3 separate regions of the Homo sapiens genome follow, and regions 1 and 3 are each linked to region 2. Evidence: promoter capture Hi-C in 16 types of primary human blood cells and fetal thymus (Javierre and others, 2016). All regions are on one chromosome and are shown on one strand. The core of a region is centred on a gene start or on the middle of the fragment in contact, and the rest is flanking DNA. Distances in the headings are between cores, read along the strand shown.

Region 1 (2,724 bases), core at 114-2,613, 390 kb after region 2:
CAGAAATGGGTCAGGTGGAGATCTCTTCTTGCACAGTGGACCGGGACACCGTGTGTGGCTGCAGGAAGAACCAGTACCGGCATTATTGGAGTGAAAACCTTTTCCAGTGCTTCAATTGCAGCCTCTGCCTCAATGGGACCGTGCACCTCTCCTGTGAGCGCAGCTCTCCTGAGGCCAAGCCCTCTCCCCACCCCAGGGGTTGGCCCCTTCCCCATGCGGTGGCACTTCCTTTCCTTCCCCCTCCTGTATTCTGTGGGTCTGACAACCAACTCCTCTCTGGCCGCCCCCACCCTGTCCCTCGTCACTTCCTCTGTCCTGTGGGGTGGGGGTGCAGGCGCTTCTCCTTTAGCTGTGCCGCACTTCTCCCTACAGGCCAGGAGAAACAGAACACCGTGTGCACCTGCCATGCAGGTTTCTTTCTAAGAGAAAACGAGTGTGTCTCCTGTAGTAAGTGAGTATCTCTGAGAGCTGCTGGGCACTGGATGGTGGCATGGGTTGGGACGGGTGACTGGTGGGAACCATTAGCTGGGCAACAGATGCCAGGATGCCCCAGAGTGCTCAGGGTCCTACTGGCTGAGTAGGAGACACTTCGTTAAGACACCAGGCAGTCCTTCCCCTTGCTCTTCAAATCTGAAGAAGTCTTTGAGGATGGAAGATCATGCCCCAAGGGCTGGCAGCCCTTCCAACTCAGATATGTAGATTCTTGGATCTACGATAGCTCATTGGTTCTAGGACATACACTCTTATAGCTCTGAAATCAAACCTCCTATAACTGGTGACTCATCATGGTTGAATTGGCAGCTCTGTTTGCGTCTGGGTAGTAATGTAAAGAAAAGTGCCTTTTATTCTTGATGGCGTCTTAGGTTTGATGCAATATGGTATTTCCTCATTAGTCACTGTCCAGGCCTCCTTACTCCTGGCTCCACAGAGGCTGTTCTTGTCACTCACTTGCAAAGAATAAACTCTGAGGGCTCTCAGAGTTTGAACCCCAGCATAGCCACTTACTGGCTATGTGACGTTGGGCAAGTTTCTTAACATCTCTGAGCCTGACTTTTCTTTTGGTGTTTTTTTTTTTTTTTTTTTTTTGAGACAGGGTTTCACTCTGTCACCCAGGCTGGAGTGCAGTGGTGCAACCGTGGCTCAGCCTCCACCTCCAGGGCTCAAGCCATCCTCTTGCCTTAGCCTCCTGAGTAGCTGGGATTAGAGGCACACACCACTACACCCAGCTAATGTTTTACTTTTTGTAGAGACAGGGTCCTACTATATTGCCCAGGCTGGCCTCGGACTCCTGGGCTCAAGCGATCTTCCGCCTCAGCCTCCCAAAGTGCTAGGATTACGGGCATGAGCCACCACGCCTGGCCTGGGCCTTAGATTTCTTATATTTAAAGTAAGCATAATGACATTCATTTGGTGAATTTGTGAGAACCAAAAACAAAGAAACAAACAAAACCTACAACACGTCTGACACAAAACTATTTATTTTCCATTAATCTTCTTTTTTTTTTTTTTTTTTTTTTTTGACACAGAGTCCTGCTCTGTCGCCCAGGCTGGAATGCAGTGGCGCGATCTCGGCTCACTGCAACCTCTGCCTCCCAGATTCAAGCAATTCTCCTGCTTCAGCCTCCCAAGTAGCTGGGATTACAGGCACGTGCCACCATGCCTGGCTAATTTTTGTATTTTTAGTAGAGATGGGGTTTCACCATCTTGGTCAGGCTGGTCTCAAACTCCTGGTGATCCACCTGCCTCTGCCTCCCAAAGTGCTGGGATTACAGCCGTGAGCCACTGCACCCAGCCGGCTTCATCTCTTCTTGAAATCACTTTTATACCATTCTATGTGGTTCTCACCATGAGCTTGAGTGGTGGGCTAAAGTGCCTCTCCCTGCTTTCAGCTTCCTGCTGGGAACTCACTCTCTCAAGTTCCTTCCAGCACCACCCCATAGAGTTCCCATCACTCCACACTGTCCAGTGACAACTCCCAACATGGAAGATCTGCTAGTTCTACAGGGTGCTCTCTGGCTGCCCCAGTAACATGTGTTTTTAAATTTTTCACATGCATGTTTGACCCCGACTCCCCGAAGTCAGGTACTGTAACTAGCAGTGTCATTTAAGAAAAAGCCCTTTAACCTCTCTTTGCCAAAGGATTCTTATCAGCAAAACAGTGATGAAACAACAATCCCATAACAGCTAGCTGGCTACCTTCTCAAGCACTTATTAAATGAGGCATAATGATTTTGCTTAATCCTCAATCCTGAGAGGTGGGCGATCCCTGTGGTGATGAGGAAACCGAGGCTTGGGGGTTAATGGCTTGCCTAGATTCACACTGCTAGCCAAGGAATGAACTGGAATTTACACCCTGACCCTGACTGCTTTTCACATTTTCTACACAGCCTTTTCAAGATCCCTGCCAATTCTAAAATTAAATGATTCTATGATTAACTGTGTTTCATTCTTCTGCATCAGTTCCCAAAACAAATTATATCAAGAGACAGCAAAAATATTTGTAAAGAAAGGATGTCCAACAATCTGTGTGGTTGTTTTTCTGTGTTCCTCCAATGGTAGGGCCTCTGTTCACCAGTGCCGTCTCTTCTTTTAGCTGTAAGAAAAGCCTGGAGTGCACGAAGTTGTGCCTACCCCAGATTGAGAATGTTAAGGGCACTGAGGACTCAGGTGAGGAGAAGTGACCTGGTGCCCATGCTCACCTGCCCTCTCCCTCTTCTTGCCCCC
Region 2 (3,003 bases), core at 105-2,604:
GGATCACGAGGTCAGGAGATCGAGATCATCCTGGCTAACACAGTGAAATCCCATCTCTACTAAAAATACAAAAAAGTTAGCCGGGCATGGTGGCGGGCGCCTGTAGTCCCAGCTACTGAGGAGGCTGAGGCAGGAGAATGGCGTGAACCCAGGAGGCAGAGCTTGCACTCAGCTGAGATCACGCCACTGCACTCCAGCCTGGGTGACAGAGCAAGACTCCGTCTCAAAAAAAAAAAAAAAAAGAGAAAGCTGAAGCCCTAAAACAAAAGTGACCTGATCAAGGTGACATGAGAATTAACAGCTACTACACTGGTGGAGACCGGCTGGAAATCAGGTTTCCTATTCTGAATAGGATGCTCTTTTGCTTAAAATGAAAAATAGTGGGCTTTACAGATCCCTTATCTCCAAAGGAGAGCTGGTTTGCTTGTTCACTGGTTACTTCTGCAAGTTGGCATTTAATTATCACTGTTTTCTTGTTCAACTGAATGGTTATTGGATCACAAAATGAGCCCTGCCCACCCATTCTCAAATTCAAACCTTTGCCCACGCTTCTCTGAGGGCTATTCAAGCCAGCAACCCACCTCTCTAACATTGGGCATGTCCAGCAGTTCTCCAAACACGTAGACACCAGGGGCCTCCAGCACCTGATGGATGAGTGTGGCCAGCGCTGCCCCCTTGGCCGACTTGGCTAGGAGCAGAAATTGCTCCTGGTTCTGCCCTGTCACCTTCACTTCCGCACTCATCACTGCACTGAGTGTGGGGGACTTGGGCTCAGGATGTCCAGAGCTGCAAGGAAAGAGGATGTGAAGCTAGAGGTCCCCGATGGCTGGTCGGATGGGAAGCACAAGGCTGAGGGACTGGATTGTAAAGGCACTAAGTCGGTTCTGCGGTGAGGAATCAGACATGGAGCGGTCTAAAATTCTGATCTAGGAATCCTAAAGTCAGCCACTTCGCAAGGCTGCCACACCCACCCCCTCCCCTGGGCCTAACCCCAAGCCCCATCACGTGCACCCCATTGAACCCCAAGACACAGGATGCAAAGGAGAAATGGGTGTCGCATGGTGTCCACCCTGACGACGCTCCCTCAGCTCTCCATTGCTGCCCCGCACGCGCCCACAACCACGTGACCTCACCCCCATTGAAGCTTACACGTGGCTCCGCCCCCTCCCTTAAAGACACCGCCCAGCGACCGTGGGCTCCCGCCGACTGCTTCGTCGTACCCTGGGTCAGGCTCTGCGGGCCGCTACCTGGAAGCTTCGACCTCCAGCGCACCGGGCGGGGCCGCCGCTCCGTCACCTCCGGCAGCTGTTCCAAGCCTTTCCTGCCACCTCCCTGAAGAGTCGCTCTGGCCACTAAACTCTATGGCGGGCTTCCGGCCGTACTTCCGCTCTAAGGACGCAAATTTCGGCAGGACATGCCCCACCCCCGCGTTCCGACCGCTGAAGCTCCAGTGAGGGACGCAGGCATTCTACTCTTCGATTGGTCGCTGGGGGAAGAATGACGGGCGCCTTTTTAAATGCTTTATTTCAATAAAACTTTATTAGTGGAAGAGCGCCAGCTATTAACTACAGACGTCTCTGGTGGGTCCCTGGTCCCGGCCCATTCTGTGTCTGTTCTAAGCCGCTGGAGAGCTGGAGATCAGGACTGCACTGGGTACCTGAGGCAAGAGAAAAGCTGTAACGGAAGGAGTGAAGAAGAGGGAAAAAAACGGGATGAGGAAACAAGGGGCAGAGAGGAAGCAAACAAAAATCAATAATAGAAGTTTAGCAGCAGAGATCACCTAGGTGGTTCAACCACTCACTTTTTTGAAGAGCAGGAGAAAAGAAGCGAGAAAAATAAAAGAGAGAATAAAGCTAACATGTATTGAGTGCTTACTATTGGTCAGACATCTTTTAAAATTTTATTCCGTTGAATCCTCACAAATATTCCCCTGTGACTTCAGGACACCCTCTACCATGATTACTACATATGTATTAATACTTGTAGAATGATGCTTTCAGTACATGGACTCTTAATTTCTTGGGGAGGAAAAAACCCTATGTGGTTCTCATTTTACAGAAAAGGAAATTGAGGCTCATAAAAATCCAAGGATTTATCTGGAGCTTTTCAAACTCAAAACCATCTTTCTACTTCAATATGATACTTTAATAAAAACAAAAACAACTAACATTTCTATAGTGTTTTATATTTCACAACAGGCTTGCAGAAGGTCAAGTGAGGGTAAAGTTAATGACATCTTGGCCTTTGTGTTAAGCCATGAGCATTACTTAATTCATCTGATACAACGATCTAGTAATTGTTATCTCCACTTTCCAGATGGAAAAACTGAACTCAGGAAAATTAAGAAACTTGTAAGTAATGGAAAGACAAGAAAGTGAAAAAGAGAAAGATAAAGAGAAATAGGACTCGTAGTCTGTTAGGGCTAAAGGAACTGCAGATGCAGTTTATGGTCCGCATATTTTGGTTTGTGATAGAAAATAAGCAGAAACACAGAAAGGAAAGAGAAAGGAGGAAGAGGAGAAGAAGAAATGAATGGAAAAGGTGAAACAAAAGTGAGTAGAAGGAATCAAAGGCATAATAAAATATTCAGAGTTTGAAGGAAGCAAGGAATTAATGAGTCCAAACATTATTATTATTATTTTGCATCCACCCCTCCCCGCCCCAAGCTTATCTTTTTTTTTTTTTTTTAATTTGAGACGGAGTCTCGCTCTGTCGCCCAGGCTGGAGTGCAGTGGCGCGATCTCGGCTCACTGCAAGCTTCGCCTCCCGGGTTCACGCCATTCTCTGGCCTCAGCCTCCCGAATAGCTGGGACTACAGGCGCCCGCCACTACGCCCGGCTAATTTTTGTATTTTTAGTAGAGACGGGGTTTCACCGTGTTAGCCAGGATGGTCTCGATCTCCTGACCTCGTGATCCGCCCGCCTCAGACTCCCAAAGTGCTGGGATTACAGGCGTAAACCACTGCGCCCGGCCAAGCTTATCATTTTTAGAGAGAAGGGAAAA
Region 3 (2,909 bases), core at 410-2,909, 270 kb after region 2:
GCCCTGTCCTCACTGCTGGCGAGAGCTCCACGGTGCGCACCGTCCTTCGCCAGGAAGCAGTCTAGGACCACGTCCACTGCCCGCCACTGCCCCTCTGCTGGGTGGGGCTCTGCAGACAAAGGCTGGGGTGAGCACCGCCTTCCCCAGAAAGCTACTCCACACTTGCTTCCTGCCCCCGCCCTCAAGCTGTGGAGTCATCAAAGGGTAAAAGTTGCCATCCAAGATCCTAGCTGTTTCTGTGTCCCTCTATTCTCCCGTCATCCCCAAACCAGCTTTCTGGAGAGCACCTGCTAGTCCAGGCAAATACTTCTTGGTGAGAGTTAAAGTCCTGGATTTGCCTTGCTCAGAGGAGTTTATGCTTGCATTTCCAACTGTTGAATAAAAGACTATCTTTTCAGTCAAAGGAATTCTCAGAAAACAAGCAAGTGCCACCGCAGAGAGAGGAGACTGGACAGTTACTGTTGCTGGGGCACTGACAGCCTGCACTGCTTTCTCCCATTTCGGGTAGCCTTCCCCTCCCCCGCCTTCAAGGTCACCTTCCAAGTGATTTCCTCACCTGGGGAGTCCTTTCCTCTTCTGAAGTGTCAGCTCCCAGGCCAGTGCCCTCTCTGTAGGACAGTGGCTCCTGACCACAGCCACAGAGGCAGCCCCTCTTTAGCATTTTCCCTGTGGAGTCCCCACCCTCCCTCCACACACACTATTGGTTCCTTCCTTTGCCAGCCGCTGAGCCTTTCCCCTGTTGGGCTTAGAAGGCGATGGGGTCATCCCCGGCCCCTTTGCTCTTCTGGAATCTCGGGGAGGGTGGCACCCTGGGGCTTCAGTAGCTCTTCTCCCAGCCAGCTCTCCCCGACTCCCAGACTCACTGGTTTCTGCTGCTCCAGATAGAGCCAGGCAGAGCAGCAGGCACCAGCCCTCCTGTGTGCCCATGGAGGCTGCTCTCGAGTTCCCTCCTTGCCCACCGCCCTTCTCCACAGTCCTACGCTGCTTGCGAGGCCCGGCGGAAGAAGGGGGCTCTCCAAGCACACCTGGCAGCCTGCAGCCTTTAGGTTTCTTCCCTGTTCCCTCTGCTGCCGACTTTTCTTTCACTTTCACTTAGAGCAAGATGGCAGCCCGCGTCCCTGTGTGAAGCCGTCTGCAGCAGCTGCCAGAGCCCTGCTTGCTGTTTCCTTTCTCACCACCCACCTCACCCGGAAATCCCCTGGTGATTTCAAGACCTGACCTCTGCACCCTTTTGCTCCCCACCTGTCCCAAAAAAGTGGAGCTATAACTGTGGGAAAAGGGGATCTGAAGTCAGACACAGGATCCACAGTAGCCTGGGGACCTTTCTCACCCCCGCCCTTAAGCAGGCCCCAACATAACCGGCTGAGAAACCTCCTCTGCCAGATCCTGACCTGAGCCAGGAGGCGGCCAGGAAACTGGATTTTGGGACTGGGATTTCAGAGAGGAAGCTGGAGAGCTGCAGGGTGGTCATCTGTCACTTTATTTTGCCCGTCTTGTAGCATGTGGGTCTTTCGCAGCAGGAAGTGTGTTTTACAACCAGAGCCCCCGCCCTCCTGCAGCGCAGGCGCAGCTGGCTGGGCTCCTGCTTCCCACTCTCCACCTCATCCATATTTGTCCTCGTCCCTGCCAGTCTCGAAAAGGCACTCTGTCACGTGTACACAGGAAAGGGCCCTGACAAGAGGATGGGACTGCAGTTGTGGCTGCCAGGTCTCACTCTCCCTTGGATGGTCGGCGGGGTGGGGGTGGAGGCCAGGGCTGTAGTGCAGCTCCCGCAGGTGCTGGCTCAGGGGGAGCAGGCAGGCTCCGGTTTTCGGTAATCCTCCTGGATGGGGATGGTGCTGCCCTCCTCCTCCCTGGGGCAGCTGTAATGACAAGGCTCTGCAGGCTCCACAGGACTTTCTCCTTTGTCTGCAGAAGGAGATCCGATGAGTCTTGGCCAGCAGTGGGGGCAGGGGGAGACGGGAGAAGGAGATGGGTAGAGGCGGGTGCGCTTGGGGGAGGGGTGTCAGGAGCACGCCAGCTAAGGGGAGAGAAGGGGTAGGACCAAGGCTGGTGAAGTGGAGCTGGTGGGTTTCAGTGAGATTCCAGGCGTGGGCAGTGGGGTTGAGCCAGTGGGGTGTGGTGCAGGGGCAGGACCGGAGGCCTGTGTTCTGTCTCTTACTTGATCTATATTTCCTTCGTTGATGGAGGAACAGGGCCCCGGCCAGGGTGAAAACAAGGAACATTCCAGAGAAGATCACAAGGATGCGAATAAAATCGGAGCTGCACAGGGATCTTTGGGCTGTAATAGGAGGGGACACACAGGGGTTAGGGGAGGGTCTAGCCCTTGGCTCCCTCAGCCCAGCCCTCCTGTCACCTTGCCTCTCCCCTTTCCCCCACCTTATTCTATCCCACCCGCCACCGTTGGCCAACTCCTCTCCTAAACAGTGGACTCTGCTTTTTCCCCTCCTCTTATCCCTAATCCTAGGAGCTTTCTGTCTGGCTTCCCTCCTGGCCCCTCGTGTATGCATTCTCTCTAGCGGTGGGGATTAAGGAGAAAACTCACGTGGCCAGTGGGTAGAGAGAGTCCGGGCAGGCAGCTGCCTGAAGTCAGCCAGAGTCTGCATGTGCCCAGCTGTCCTGGCCTCCAGCATCTCTGGAAAAACAGAGACAGAATGAGTAGCAGCAGGGGACCCCATAGGGCACATCTGAAGGCCTGAGAGGTGCTGGATGGGATGGGAAGGCAGAAACAGGCTGACCTTATCTAGGGGTAGGAGTGGGGAGTACTGGTTGGGGTATCACCGCTACCCCACGTGATGGCACAGAGAGTTGCCTGGAACTTACCACTGACATAAGGTAAGTGGGTGGGCTGAGGGTGTGGGCTCAGGGCCTGAGACGACCGAGCGGTCAGCGAAGGGTTTGGAAGAGGA

Evidence for each region. The method cuts DNA at HindIII sites, captures the fragments that hold promoters and counts their contacts. A CHiCAGO score of 5 or more calls a contact.
Region 1: a fragment that was not itself captured here is called in contact with the fragment with the promoter of COPS7A in region 2 in 1 of 17 cell types (total CD4 T cells); the score reaches 5.4 in total CD4 T cells.
Region 3: a contact is called between the fragment with the promoter of CD27-AS1 here and the fragment with the promoter of COPS7A in region 2, in 3 of 17 cell types (naive B cells, naive CD4 T cells and total B cells). The highest score is 5.6, in naive B cells.

Annotation. Positions count from the first base shown.
Region 1 is chr12:6,330,796-6,333,519 of GRCh38, reverse strand. TNFRSF1A (TNF receptor superfamily member 1A) reads left to right here. Exons shown (of 10, transcript NM_001065.4): 4 at 4-153; 5 at 373-451; 6 at 2,594-2,667. Among named protein-coding and RNA genes, the nearest start is that of TNFRSF1A, 9.9 kb to the left of the region's middle. The HindIII fragment of the contact is 4,278 bases long and covers 1-2,724 here.
Region 2 is chr12:6,722,397-6,725,399 of GRCh38, reverse strand. COPS7A (COP9 signalosome subunit 7A) reads right to left here and starts at 1,354. Exons shown (of 8, transcript NM_001164094.2): 1 at 1,221-1,354; 2 at 582-786. The coding sequence starts at 743. RefSeq lists enhancers at 700-919, 1,050-1,189, 1,220-1,429. The HindIII fragment of the contact is 1,412 bases long and covers 1,257-2,668 here.
Region 3 is chr12:6,450,267-6,453,175 of GRCh38, reverse strand. CD27-AS1 (CD27 antisense RNA 1) reads left to right here and starts at 1,659. Exons shown (of 6, transcript NR_015382.2): 1 at 1,659-2,835. CD27 (CD27 molecule) reads right to left here. Exons shown (of 6, transcript NM_001242.5): 3 at 2,824-2,909; 4 at 2,546-2,635; 5 at 2,162-2,281; 6 at 1,463-1,908. The coding sequence ends at 1,784. TAPBPL (TAP binding protein like) reads right to left here and starts at 1,134. Exons shown (of 7, transcript NM_018009.5): 1 at 864-1,134; 2 at 1-109. The coding sequence starts at 927. RefSeq lists enhancers at 835-1,434, 1,865-2,024, 2,115-2,324. The HindIII fragment of the contact is 9,942 bases long and covers 1-2,909 here.